Linked DNA regions of Homo sapiens: regions 1, 2 and 4 are each linked to region 3. The links are contacts of gene promoters, found by promoter capture Hi-C in human tissues and cell types (Jung and others, 2019). All regions are on one chromosome and are shown on one strand. Each heading gives the region's core, a stretch centred on a gene start or on the middle of the fragment in contact. The rest is flanking DNA. Distances are from core to core; before and after follow the strand shown.

Region 1 (3,644 bases), core at 417-2,916, 380 kb after region 3:
TTGCTGCAAAGGACATGATTTCATTTTTTAGGGCTATGTAGTATTCCATAAATCTAGTGTACAGATTACTATTTGACCCAGTATATACTCAAAAGGTAATAAGTCATTTTACTAAAAAGACAAATACATATGGTCAACCTAAATGCCCATCAATGATAGACTGGATAAAGAAAATGTGGTACATATACACCATGGAATACTATGCAGCCATAAAAAAGAACGAGATCATCTCCTTTGCAGGGACATAGATGGATCTGGAAGCCATTATCCTCAGCAAACTAATGCAGAAACAGAAAATCAAATACTGCATGCTCTCACTTTTAAGTGGGAGCTGAACGATGAAACCACATGGACACATGGTAGAGAACAACACACACTGGGGCCTGTCAGAGGATGGTGGGTAGGAGGAGGGAGAGCATCAGGAAGAAAAGCTAATGGATGCTGGGCTTAATACCTAGGTGATGGGATGATCTGTACAGCTAATCACCATGGCACATCTTAGCTATGTAATAAACCTGCACATCCTGCACACGTAGCCCTGAACTTAAAAGTTGGACTTTTTTTTTAAAAAGACACATGTACCTGTATGATCATCAGCACGCTATTCACAACAATGAAAGCATAGAATCAGCCCTGGTGCCCGTCAGTGGTAGACTGGATAAAGAAGATGTGGTACATATACACCATGGAATACTACACAGCCATGAAAAAAAGAATGAAATCAGGAATAATACTTTAAGTCTGTGTATTTGGATTGGGGCCTGGAGAAGGGTGTCCAACCAATACTAACTACTGTTTCCTACTGTCTTTCTTTTAAACACTTGGCAACTTCACTTCCCAAGCCTGACCTATGAAGGTGTTATGTTGCTAACTTTAACATACCTGACCGCATTTAGCATACACTATGTTCTACAACCAATAATAAAAACTTTATATATAAATAATGTGTGTGTATATGCGTGTGTGCGCATGTGTGTGTGTGAGAGAGAAAGAGAGAGAGAGTTAGATAGTATTATTACTTTATCGTTAAGAACATTGACAATTTGAGAAGTGATATGATGCTCCAAAATTATATGACTAGTTTGAGAGTCAAGGTTCAAGAGTTAAATCCATCTTCAATCTAATCAAAAGTCAAAACTTTCAGCCACATCACTGTCAACATAGGTAGATGCGCTAATAGTAATGAGATTATAAAAAAAGTTAAAACACAGGTCATAGCTCGTTAATTCATTTAACACCTTTTTGTAGTTTAAAGAATGAACATTTCACTTGTTTTTGTTTGTTTTTGGTTTTTTTTTTTACCACTCATGAGAAACCAATATATAACAAACAGATAAAATTACCACCTAGTCAGTCAGAGCATCATCTATCTTATTTTTTGTTCATATCTTTGGAGGAAGAAGCACATTTCATAAGAACCACTAAATTTCCTATAATGGAACATTTATGCCCTATGCCCACCTCAGTATTTTAGAAAAAATGTTGAAAACATCTATTTCTGCTCTCAAATAGCTTATAGTAGGTATAGCTGCCCCACTGCTTTTGCATGAGTTACACTTGTCTCTAAAATGTTTCTTAGATATAGAAGCTTACCTTACAGCTGGATGAGCAGAAACAGTCAATACAGAATAGTTGTTCTGCAATCAGAAAATCAGCCATGGAACATTGCATTAATATGTTTGGAGAAGCTTGCTTTCAGATAGTGGTCAACAGGTTTCAAGGTCTCTTAGGCATGGAGAAATAAAGGGAAGAGCATTAACACGGAAAAAGTCCTGAATCTACTATTAATTCTTTCTGTGAACTTAAAGGAATTACTTATCTTCCCCTTTCTTGAGAAAATAAACATGTTAAGATTACCTCTCTCACATAATTCACAGAATTGCATCTGTAAAGAACAAGTAAGGGAGGCCTGTAAAACATCTTGCTAAGGGGCCATCATGCAAAAATCAGTCAATGTAATTTTTAACTCGGGATGTTTTCCCTGAGCAGGGTTGAAGCTTCATAGCAAAGCCTCAGGTCAGAAGGCATGCATGAACTAAAAACAATTATCCTTTAGATGAATAAATTATGATCTGCAGAGCTTTGTACACAGTGTGGTCTCTCTAAAACTACATCATGTTGGGAGTCATGTTGGGATTTTAGATGCTAATATATGGAGACATGAGGAGAATTATAAGGGCATGGAGATCTCTGGAGATGTCCCCTGTGAGAGGATCTACAGCTCCTCATTCTACTTTCCTGGTGAAGAAGCAATTAAAGCTGCCGGTGGGGATCAAGCTTATTATTTTTAATATGTGCACATAATTTGTGTGCATATTAAATTTATTTTTTTCATTCTCTAATTAATGCATAATTTACATACAGTAATACCCAGTATTAATACACACTTTACTGTACAGTTCTAAGAATTTTGTCAAATACATGGTCACATAATGACTGCAACAATTACATAAAAAAAATTTTCTAAGCCGACTTTTTGGTAACCTCTTTTCCCACCCGCTACCCTGGCAACAAGTAAATTGTTTTTGTCCAAATAATTTTGCTTTTGCTAGAATGTCTTTAAATATAATCCTAGAATATGTAGTCTTTGAGTCTGGCATCTTTCACTTTCACTTAGCAATTGAGACCCATATATATTGTTGCCTATGTCAGAGTTAAATCTTTTTTATTGTAGAAGAATATTGCATTATGTGGACATTACAGATTGTTTTTCTCATTGTGCAACTGAGGAACATTTGTATTGGTTTTAGTGTTTGGTGAGTAGAAATAAAGCTGATCTAAACATTTCATTAAAGATTTCTGGGTGAGGCACTGTGGCTCATGCCTGTAATCCTAGCACTTTGGGATGCCGAGCGGGGTGGATCACTTGAGGTAAGTAGTTGAAGACCAGCCTGGTCAACATGGTGAAGCTCATTCTCTACTGAAAATACAAAAATTAGCCAGGGATGGTGGCGGGCACCTGTAATCCCAGCTACTCAGGAGGCTGGGGCAGGAGAATTGCTTGAACCCGGGAGGCAGAGGCGGAGGCAGAGGCGGAGGCTGCAATGAGCCAAGATTGCGCCTCTGTACTCCAGCCTTGGCTACAGAGTGAGACTCTGTCTCAAAAAAAAAGTTTCTGAGGTGAACATAGATTTTCATTTCATTTGAATAAATATTTATGAGTCAGATTGAATTGTTCTATGGTAAGCACATGTTTATCTGAATAAGAAACTGTCAACATCTTTTCTGAAGATATTCTACTATTTTGAATTCCCACTAGCAGTTCGTTCAAATTGTCTCACCTCTGTATCAGCATTTTATATTTAAAAATTTTTTAATTTAATTTTTATTTTACTTTTTTTGATTTTTCTCTAAGATATCTCCTTACCGATTTTCTTAACACTTATCTACCTTATCACCACAATTCTGGCCTGGGAATGCTTTTCTTTTCCAAAAAAGGAGACAGATTCATCCTTTTGCACACAGATTCATCGCTTTGCACTGTTGCTTCTGAGCCCACACCACACTCCCAAGCAGACTTATCACATCTCTCTTAGTACAAGCCAGTGTCATGATTAAACATTTGTTCTGTACACCAAGGTTGTTGCTTCACCTCAAATTTGAGTAAGAAATGTAGCCTTTTCAAACTTCAGCTTCTCTTCTGT
Region 2 (3,504 bases), core at 49-2,548, 360 kb after region 3:
AAACTTGCAGCAAGGAAACCATCTTCTATTATTTTTACTTCAGCAGGATTGCAAGTGTGTTAGAAGGGACAGTAAGCTCATTGAGTAAAATGGAATAAATACTGAACCAGTGAATCATTGGCAACCATCTTATTAAGATAAGACTTTTGGAAGGGGTAGAAACAATAATTGGTCTTCAGGTACATTTGTCAGTCCTTAGTTGGCTACAAGGTGAAAAGCAAATGGTTTGGAGAATTTCTTTTTTTTAATTTTTTATTAATTTTAATTTTTTATTTTATTTTATTATTATTATACTTTAAGTTTTAGGGTACGTGTGCACAATGTGCAGGTTTGTTACATATGTATACATGTGCCATGTTGGTGTGCTGCACCCATTAACTCGTCATTTAGCATTACGTATATCTCCTAATGCTCTCCCTCCCCCTTCCCCCAACCCCACAACAGGCCCCAGAGTGTGATGTTCCCCTTCCTGTGTCCATGTGTTCTCATTGTTCAATTCCCACCTATGAGTGAGAGCATGTAGTGTTTGGTTTTTTGTCCTTGCGATAGTTTACTGAGAATGATGATTTCCAATTTCATCCATGTCCCTACAAAGGACATGATCTCATCATTTTTTATGGCTGCATAGTATTCCATGGTGTATATGTGCCACATTTTCTTAATCCAGTCTATCATTGTTGGACATGTGGGTTGGTTCCAAGTCTTTGCTATTGTGAATAGTGCCGCAATAAACATACGTGTACATGTGTCTTTATAGCAGCATGATTTATAGTCCTTTGGGTATATACCCAGTAATGGGATGGCTGGGTCAAATGGTATTTCAAGTTCTAGATCCCTGAGGAATCGCCACACTGACTTCCACAATGGTTGAGCAAGTTTACAGTCCCACCAACAGTGTAAAAGTGTTCCTACTTCTCCACATCCTCTCCAGCACCTGTTGTTTCCTGACTTTTTAATGATTGCCATTCTAACTGGTGTGAGATGGTATCTCATTGTGGTTTTGATTTGCATTTCTCTGATGGCCAGTGATGGTGAGCATTTTTTCATGTGTTTTTTGGCTGCATAAATGTCTTCTTTTGAGAAGTGTCTGTTCATATCCTTCACCCACTTTTTGATGGGGTTGTTTGTTTTTTTCTTGTAAATTTGTTTAAAATTTTTTTTTTAAAATTTTACTTTAAGTTTTGGGATACATGTGCAGAACACACAGGTTTGTTACAGAGGTATATGTGTGCCATACAAGAATTTTAAATTCAAGCCTCATAGCTTTGTTACAGTAAAATAACTAGATTAGGTGACCACTCATAGGGAATTTCCATTCAAGTCGAAGATATGATAAACAGGTGAACAAATAATACCGGAGTTTAATGTTGATAATGATTTTGAAGAATGAAGTAGGCTGAGGAAAGAAGGTCCATGGGAGGGGAGAGGCTATATTATGAAGTAGTTCAGGAAAGGCATGATCTGCCTGGGTGGGTTAACATTTAAGCAACAATATTAAATGAGTATGGAAATTTTCTGAGCAGAGGAAACAGCAAATAAAGAGCTCCTAAGACAAGAGCATGCCTAGAGATGTGGGCCCAACCAAAGCAACGATGGTGGCACAACAATTTCAAAACATTTACTGCCAAAAAAGAGAATAGCATTATTATTAATATCAATGCTTTTTTAAAAAACAAAATGTGAAGTTGGTAGTCATATGGGTAAGGTAAAAGATGACAATATTTTCTCTGCTTTTATTCTAATTTGACTATCTTTTCAAGGTTGTCATGTGAATATGCTTTCTCTCACCAAATCACTACATAATGACTGAAACATTAATATTAAGATACTGTAATTATTTATATTTAGATAAAATGTGCCAATAAAAAACTATACTCTATTAAAACCAGTATCATATTTCTCTCTATTTCGCATGCTTAGAGCTATTTCTCAACTAAAGAAATTAATAATATAATAATATAATATAATACAGAAAGCTATTGCATAAGGTGGATCTAAGAGGGATAGAATGACTTTTTATGGATTTTACATTATTAAAAGACTAAACCCAGAAAATATTTTGTTTCCTCAACAAACAGTCTTGAATGCACTCTTGACCTCGTTGTTTCTCAGGCTATAAACCACAGGGATTAGCATGGGGATAACCATAATATGAAACACAGATACAATTTTTTCTGTGTTCATGAAATGATAGAACTTGGCTGCACATATGTGATGAGGACAGTCTCATAAAATAAAGGAACTGCAGTGAGGTGAGAACCATAGGTAGATAAAACCTTCTTGTATACTTAAAGAGAGCATCTTTAAAATGGTGACAAATACAAATACAAACAAGCAGGAAATCAAGATAACTAGGAGGGTAAAAAATATAGCTTGAAGTAGGAACAAGGATCAACTCATTAATATGTTTATTAGAGCAAGTCAGAGTCATGACTGCCAGAATATCACAGAAAAAGTGATGGATCTCATTGGACATAAAATGTCTCCAATGTCAACAGCAGCAGTCAGTAAACCTAAGACATGCATGTATGGCCAGAGAAGCACACACATTTGTTGTCATGGTGGTGGTGTAATGTAGGGGTTTACACATTACTCTGTAGCAATCATAGGCCACTGAAGTCAAGAAGTAACTTTCCACAGTAGCAAAGACTGCAAAAAAGAACATCTGAGCAGCACATACATTGTAGGAGATGACCTTGTGAGCTATCAGCAACCCAGCCATCATCTTTGGAGTGACAGTTTCTGAGTAGCAAAAGTCCACCAGAGACAGGTTACTGAGGAAAAAGTACATGGAAGTGTGGAGACGAGAGTCCAGCAGGATCAGCAGCATCATCCCCAGGTTCCCACTCAGAGTGAAGAGGTAGATGAAGTTAAATAAGACAAAGAGGTGGACCTGTAGTTCTGGGGCTTTGGTTAGTCCTAGTCATATGAATTCATTTACCTCTGTATTATCATCTATAGATGTGGTTTGAGACTCATGGGATGCTCTGTAGGAAAGAGAGATGATGGAATAGAGTGATGAGCAACAAAGACTTGCACATAAATGGAAACATGTAGCCTATGTTATGATAGCAATTATTTGTTCTCCAATATTCCTCATATCTGAGACTTAGAAATGGCAGTGCAATTAGTGGCTAACTTATCTAAACAGCAATAGACTTTGGAAGAGGAAATGGTCTTCATGAATCATCTTCCCAACTTCTTAAAAGTGAGTTACAGAAGAGTTAAGGAGTTGTCCAAGGTCACATGCCTGAAATAAATCCATCTCCCAAATCAGGTCTTTTGAACCTTTAACAGCTTTACACTTCTGTAGTCTATGTGATTTATTTGTATATAGTCATTTAATCCTCCCATCAACTCCATTAGATTGAGGAGCTATTACTCTATCTGGTAATTTGGCAACAAAGATACTGAGTAATTTATTCAAGGTTACACATTTATTGATTTAAAAATTCAAACTTTATACCCAGAGTGGTTTCCAACCCAAACGCTGTTAATAGAATA
Region 3 (3,335 bases), core at 675-3,174:
TCCTGACTTTGGTATAGCCCAATCTTTTCTTCAGAGTTTTCCCAGTTTGTAATCTCATTTTTTGTTGTTCAAAACCTCTTTTTTTTTTTTAAAAAAAATTATTTATTTTATTTATTTTTGAGTCAGAGTCTCATTCTGTCACCCAGGCTGGAGTGCAGTGGTGTGATATCGGCTCACTGCAACCTCCACCTCCTGGGTTCAAGCAATTCTGCCTCAGCCTCCTGAGTAGCTGGGATTACCATGTGTATGCCATCATGCCTGGCTAGTTTTGGTATTTTTAGTAGAGACAGGGTTTCACCATGTTGGCCAGGCTGGTCTCGAACTCCTGACCTCAAGTGATCCACCCACCTCGGCCTCCCAAAGTGCTGGGGTTACAGGTATGAGCCACCACACCCGGCCCAAAAGCTCTTTTACAGAGTCATTGTGGTTTTAAATATCAATTCAGTTTTCAAGTGAGAAAATGGAGGCACACAGAATTCAACTGATTTGCTTAAGCTCTTATAGAGTAGGGGTGCCGAGGGACTTTGTGGGGTTTTAGTTCTCCTTCATCTCCATCTGCCTCCTCAAGCCACCTCAAACCTACAATCTAAACAAAATCAATTTGCTTTTGTTATTCCAGGGCAGCTTCATGACCATTCCCAGAGTCCCACCAGATGGCCATTCCCATGCTGTCCCTTTATTGAAATTCTGTGGTCATCGCATAGTCCATAAGCAATAGAAGCAAAAGAGTAAGCAGGTTTTACCAGAGTGTACCTTTAAAGTTTCAAAGAACCCGCACATCCACTATCTCATCAATTCACAGAATGTTCTGAGAGACAACAAGAATAGATATTATTGCTGCCTAGAGATTAAGAGCTAGAAGCTCAGAAAGCTTGATTCTCACCTTGGTTCCTGTCTGCTATAGTGGACTCTCTGGCTTGGTTTGGGTCTGGGGTCTCTGTCACATATATGGCTGGAGAAGCCTCCCACTTATTTTCTTATACCTCAGTTTCCCATTTGTTCCCATCATAGGCAGACTATATGTCAGTAGCTTTGAGGAACAGATTGTATCTGCTCAGTATTGAAGTCCTGGAATAATGAGAGAAGCGCCCAGTTAATTGATCAGATTTTATTTTAGGAATATCACCCTCCCTGGGGAGGTGGTATGATGGAAAGATGGTGGGCTCTGGAGTCAGACTGGGCTGGATTCTCATCTGGACTCTGTCACTTACTAGCTGGTTGAAGCAGGGATTTTGAGAGCCCCACATACTAGGTCCTTTCCTCTTCCCAGCTACCTGGCAACTAAGCAAACCTAGGGCTTGGTGGAACAGAGTTTGAAAACAGCTGATAGAGTACAGCTTTCCGGGAAATTTAGAATTAAATTCTGTAGCTAAGAAAAAGAAATTATATGTAGAAATCAATTCAATTTGCCTCCCACCCAAGGCCATGAGAGCAGGCTGCTCCAGATATACAAGACATCATTCCTGCAGGCATTGTCAGTCTTGTAGTCCGTTGACAGTAATTGCATGGACAACACCCAAATTGATTGACTTTTCTGTAAGTATTGTTGAACTTCCTTTTCCTTAAATTTCCTTAAAAACAGGTAGCTAGAAATGGAAAGGAAACTAAGTACGCTGCCAACGTACAATCAGGAGCATGCAGCCACCCTTTTATTACATCAGTATATATTTATTGCATGTAGACTACATGTCAGTGACTTTGGCATTAGCAACACAGTAATGAACAAACAAACAAAGGCACTATCTTCAAGGAGCTTCCTTTTGTGTGTGTGTGTGTGTGTGTGTGCGTGATGTTATAGACAAACAAATAAATATCTACCAGATGGCAATGAAGCTGTGACCCAAAAAATCAAACTGAGAAGAGGGTCAGAGAGTGAAAGGAACTGCGTTTTCAGATAGGTGGTCAGAAAGGGCCTCTCTGTTAAGGTGGCCCTTGTGCAGGGAATTGAAGAAGTGCAGGAGGATGCCACACAGAGATGGTAGAGGGAGCGAAAGGAGCAAAGGCCCTAACTTTCCCTTAATGATGTCTCCTTCCATCTTTAGTCCAGCCCAGCAATGTACATGTTATCCTTCCCGTTTGAAGATGAAGACACTGAGGCTCAGAAAGATCAAACGCCTTTCCCAAACTCACAGCTACGGCCTGACGGAGGTAGGGTCAAATGCAGCTCCACTGATTTCAGAGACGGTGCTGTTAACACAGGGGGCTGTCTGCATGTTGGAAAGTGAGATGTGCTGTTGCTGTCACGTTGCAGTGGGAGTGGGGAAGCAGGCTGTGATGAGCTAGACCCAAGAGGAATCAGAGAGCAGGTCTCCGGGCTTCATCCTGGGCATCTCCTAGCCCCGCTGTCTGTCTCATAACACCCACCCACTGCGCCTGCTCACCTCGGTTTGTTGGCTGTTTTTTTTTGAAATCATTTCCTGGATCTTAGTAAGTTTATTTTCCAGTTCCTTTCACTTTTTGGGACTAGGCCCCCAGATGCCAGGTGGAGAGAACTGAAAGAGGGAGAAATCCAGCGTTTCTCACCAGGCTTGTCACGTAGCTACACAAGCAAATAGCTACAGGAACCAAGTTTCAATTTTCGTGCATGGGCCTCAAACTGTTTTTCCATATTTGTTAGGGAAAATCTTGGCCAGGGAGCACCGTCTTTTGAGGACACCAAATTGGGCCAAGTTCCTGTGCGGCCTTTCTCCTTATTTAGTGATTGCCCCGTGTGACCCTCTCCTCTCTGGCTGACCTCTTTTTTCCTGCATGGCACTTGGTGGATAAAGTTCCCTGAACCTTGGAGAGGAAGCGGATGCTGTTAATAGCCCTGGGAGTGTGACTGTGCTTTGCAGCTCACTGGAGCCTGTGGGATATTCCTCCAGCCTTGGCGGGGCTCCGAGCTGCAGGGAAATTAACCTCAGAGTCAGGGCAGGGAGCCAGGGTTGCAGGCACGTTGTCATTGGGTGAAATGAGATGGCAGAGGAAAATGGCACGGTGTGGAGGCTTTTTTTGTCAGAAGCTCTGGGGTTTGGCTCTTCTCTGTGCCATGTAGTTCTTTGATCTTGCCCAAGTTTACTTACTGTCTCTCTGAGCCTTCAGTGATTTCAATTGCGTGAAAACCAAGACAAATAACACCTCTATATCAAGAATAGTTCATAGGATCATAGTACAATATTGTGGGGATTAAGCCAGATGGTATCAGCCCATCAGAATCTAGCCCATGGGAGGGGCTCCGTAAATGACCCTTTCTTTTTGAGACGGAGTCTTGCCCTGTCGCCAGGCTGGAGTGCAGTGGCGCGATCTCAGCTCACTGCAACCTCCGCCTCCCGGGTTCAAGAGATTCTCCTGCCTCA
Region 4 (3,148 bases), core at 89-2,588, 310 kb after region 3:
GGAGGCTCACTTGTACTTCACTAATTACTTTTGTCTTGCTGCTTTCAAAATTCTCTCTTTGTCCTTGGCTTTTGACAATTTGATTATAATGTGTCTTTGGGTAATCCTGTTTGAGGTCCTTTGGGCTTCATAAATGTGGATATTCATTTTTTCCCCCAGATTTGGGAATTTGGGGCCATGATATATTTAAATAAATCTTTTGCTCTTTTCTCTATCTGTTGAGTCCTTGAAACTCCCATAACATGTATATCGTTTCAATTGATTTTGCATCCTAATTCCCTTAGGCTTCCTTCACTTTTTTATTCCTTGTTTTTTTCTCTGACTGTATAATTTCAAGTGAGTCGTCTATAAGTTTAATGATTCTTTCCTCTGCTTGATGAAGTCTTCTGTTTAATCCCTCTAATAAATTTTTCAGTTCAGTTATTTTTTTCTTCAGGTTTAGAATTTCTATGTGTTTCCTTTTTATCATTACTTTTTGTTATATTCTTATTTTGTTCCTGTATCATTTCCCTGATTTTCTTTTATCATCTGTGTTCTAATTCACTTAGCTCCTCTAAGATCATTATCTTTTTTGACAAGAAAGTTATAGATCTCCATTACATTAGGGTCAGTATTGTGTAAACAGGGCTAAGCACCCTTGTTGGGGTCCTTCAAGGATCACTTCTACACAGATCAAAAGCACTGAGAGAAACATAAAAACTTAAAATTTTATTATACTCACAGGTCTTAAAGAAGAGGCACAGTATTACCAGAGGGTCACATAATTCACCAAAAGCTGTGGGTTGAGCTTGGTTGTCAGGAAAACAGACAGAGGAGATGACTCATGGGTGAGCATTTTTATTGGGGGTAGTCATAGGTGGTGCAGCCATAGCATGAAGGCAGTATTTTTGTTGGTTAATTTAAATGTAACTAGGTCAAAACAGGGAAAGGAAGACATCAAATGGAAAGGTCATCATATGACTTATTGCCTGGCCACATATGTTGAGAGATGAGTGCTTGGTAGTGGACAATGACTAGGTAAAAGTTTAAAACAAGCAGAGAGAATGCAACTACTTTAGAGCCACTGAGGCAACAAAGAATAACCTTATATTACATTTCATTACTGGACATGTATTTCATTCCTTTGATTGTGTCATGGTTTCCTGATTCTTTGTGTTTCTTGTAGCTTTGCCTTGGTGTCTGTGTTTGAATAAAAAGTCCCCTTTCCCAGTCTTTACAAACTGGCTTTGGCAGCATGCTGAAAGACTAGAAGATTGAATATATGCCCCACTTTCTTCTCCCTCCGAGAGAAAATTTTAGACTGAGGCAATCTCTCAGTTGGTGCCGAGCTGTGACAACTTGAAAAAAGAGCTGATATGGTAAAGTGAAATTGCTCTTTTTACATGTTTCAATGTGACTGTTCTTAGTTTTGTACTTGTCTGGGGGTACTGCAACTATTTAACTAGATTCTGCACTTCCCGTAAAGTTATTTTGATCCACACATCATGGCAAATTGGTGTTTCTGTGGAAGACAAAGTTGGGCATTTCTACTCTGCCATCTTGCTGGCATCTCTACATCCTGACTTAAATTCTTTTTTGTATTTTCTATCTCTTTGCTCTCTGAACTGTATTTTGAACTATATTTCTCAATTTAACTTTGTCTAGTTTAATATTTATCCCCTCAATCAAAAATTGTATAAAACTGTTGTGAATGTATATTTTTTATGTTATCTTATTGGTTTTCTTTTCATATTTCACATTGCTATTTTTGTTTCATTTGTTTCCAACTCTTAAATGAGATTAGACTCCATCTAAAGTGCACAATCTTAACCATCTTTCCAAAATTCTGTGTCACATTAATTAACTTTTCTATGTATTACTTTCCTCATCTGTACAATTGAAAAAATAATATTTTTCTCCCTTTATAATAGATGAATAAAATAAAATAGATTATATAGAATACTTAGTGTAATGTTTGCTTCAGACTAAGTACTCATTCTCCTCCTAGATAGATTTGCACATATGCAAAGCTTTAGAACTTGTGATCACTTTATAATAAATATGTTCTACCATGTGCTCAGAATTAAAATATAAAGTTTTCCCAGCTCTAACACAGAAGGCATAGCTTGAATCTCTTTGACCTAATACATTTAAGGAGAACTGAATTCTGACTTTATAACAGTTTCTGTGTTAATCACTGTTATTAAAAAGTGAATAACGTGATTACTTATTATGGGGGCAGAGCCAATAAGCTCTGTAAATAAGCACCCAAACAGTAATAAGTGATATAATTAATATCTCTATAATATGTTATGAAATCACCATGAAAATGTTCAGAATGTGCCAGAGCACCCTACATGAATTTTCTTCTTCTGTGAGTTGCCACACTGTGATAAAACATATAAAATGTTCATCTAATTAAAGTTATTTTTGAAAAATAACTAATTTCTGTATTCCACTAAAATACCAAGAAGCCAATGCACTGCCCACTCTCTTATATATACTTCTAGGTATAAAGCAGCAAGAAATGACTGTTTTTCATCTAGAAATTCAGATATGCAGGCATGTGGATAAAATTGTACTGCAAAACACAAGATCAATTATAATCCTAGGTCTGTTCATAAAGAGCTGGGTATAGATTTGCCATGGCCATATCTTCTTAATTCACAAAATGAGATACCTTCTACCCCTCCTCATAAGCTGTGCTCCTACTCTCATGTGGCAATGAAAATGACAGTAGTTTGATAGCATAAAAGATATTAATATTTTTAAATCAGGCAATCTGAGCCATTACTTTTCATGGTATACTTAATCTCTTATTGGTTACTGTTCCACAATTTCTATTATGGTAATATTTTATAATTACTCTCCCTTTATTAATTTTTAGAAACTTTTTGATACATTGTTTTCTTGGTTTCATTTAGTTCTTTGTTCAAGACTTCCTTTAGCTCTATGAACATATTTAAGATATTTGTCTTAAAAATGCCAAAAGTACAGAACACCAGTTAAAAATAAAACATCTAAATGAGCATAAAGATATGTTATATTCATGGATCGGCAGACTTCAAGATGACTATTTTCCAGACTTTATATGATCTCAACTGAAACTCAAGTGAGCTTTTTTTTGGGTAAATACTGACAAACTGGTTATAACTTTTTGCATAACAGC

What was found. The method cuts DNA at HindIII sites, captures the fragments that hold promoters and counts their contacts. A contact is called where the count stands out against the background at its distance.
Region 1: a contact is called between the fragment with the promoter of OR5B3 here and the fragment with the promoter of OR9Q1 in region 3, in 1 of the 25 tissues and cell types used here (IMR-90 fibroblasts).
Region 2: a fragment that was not itself captured here is called in contact with the fragment with the promoter of OR9Q1 in region 3 in 1 of the 25 tissues and cell types used here (aorta).
Region 4: a contact is called between a fragment that was not itself captured here and the fragment with the promoter of OR9Q1 in region 3, in 1 of the 25 tissues and cell types used here (thymus).

Annotation. Positions count from the first base shown.
Region 1 is chr11:58,405,208-58,408,851 of GRCh38, forward strand. It overlaps OR5B3 (olfactory receptor family 5 subfamily B member 3), which reads right to left and starts at 1,667. Exons shown (of 2, transcript NM_001005469.2): 1 at 1,594-1,667. The HindIII fragment of the contact is 8,045 bases long and covers 1-1,842 here.
Region 2 is chr11:58,385,513-58,389,016 of GRCh38, forward strand. It overlaps the pseudogene OR5B15P. Among named protein-coding and RNA genes, the nearest start is that of OR5B3, 20 kb to the right of the region's middle. The HindIII fragment of the contact is 5,532 bases long and covers 1-3,504 here.
Region 3 is chr11:58,021,957-58,025,291 of GRCh38, forward strand. It overlaps OR9Q1 (olfactory receptor family 9 subfamily Q member 1), which reads left to right and starts at 1,925. Exons shown (of 3, transcript NM_001005212.4): 1 at 1,925-2,148. LOC107984331 (a long non-coding RNA gene) reads right to left here and starts at 2,463. Exons shown (of 3, transcript XR_001748218.1): 1 at 2,131-2,463; 2 at 884-1,068. The HindIII fragment of the contact is 7,062 bases long and covers 1-3,335 here.
Region 4 is chr11:58,334,067-58,337,214 of GRCh38, forward strand. No RefSeq gene overlaps it. Among named protein-coding and RNA genes, the nearest start is that of OR5B17, 23 kb to the right of the region's middle. The HindIII fragment of the contact is 8,330 bases long and covers 1-3,148 here.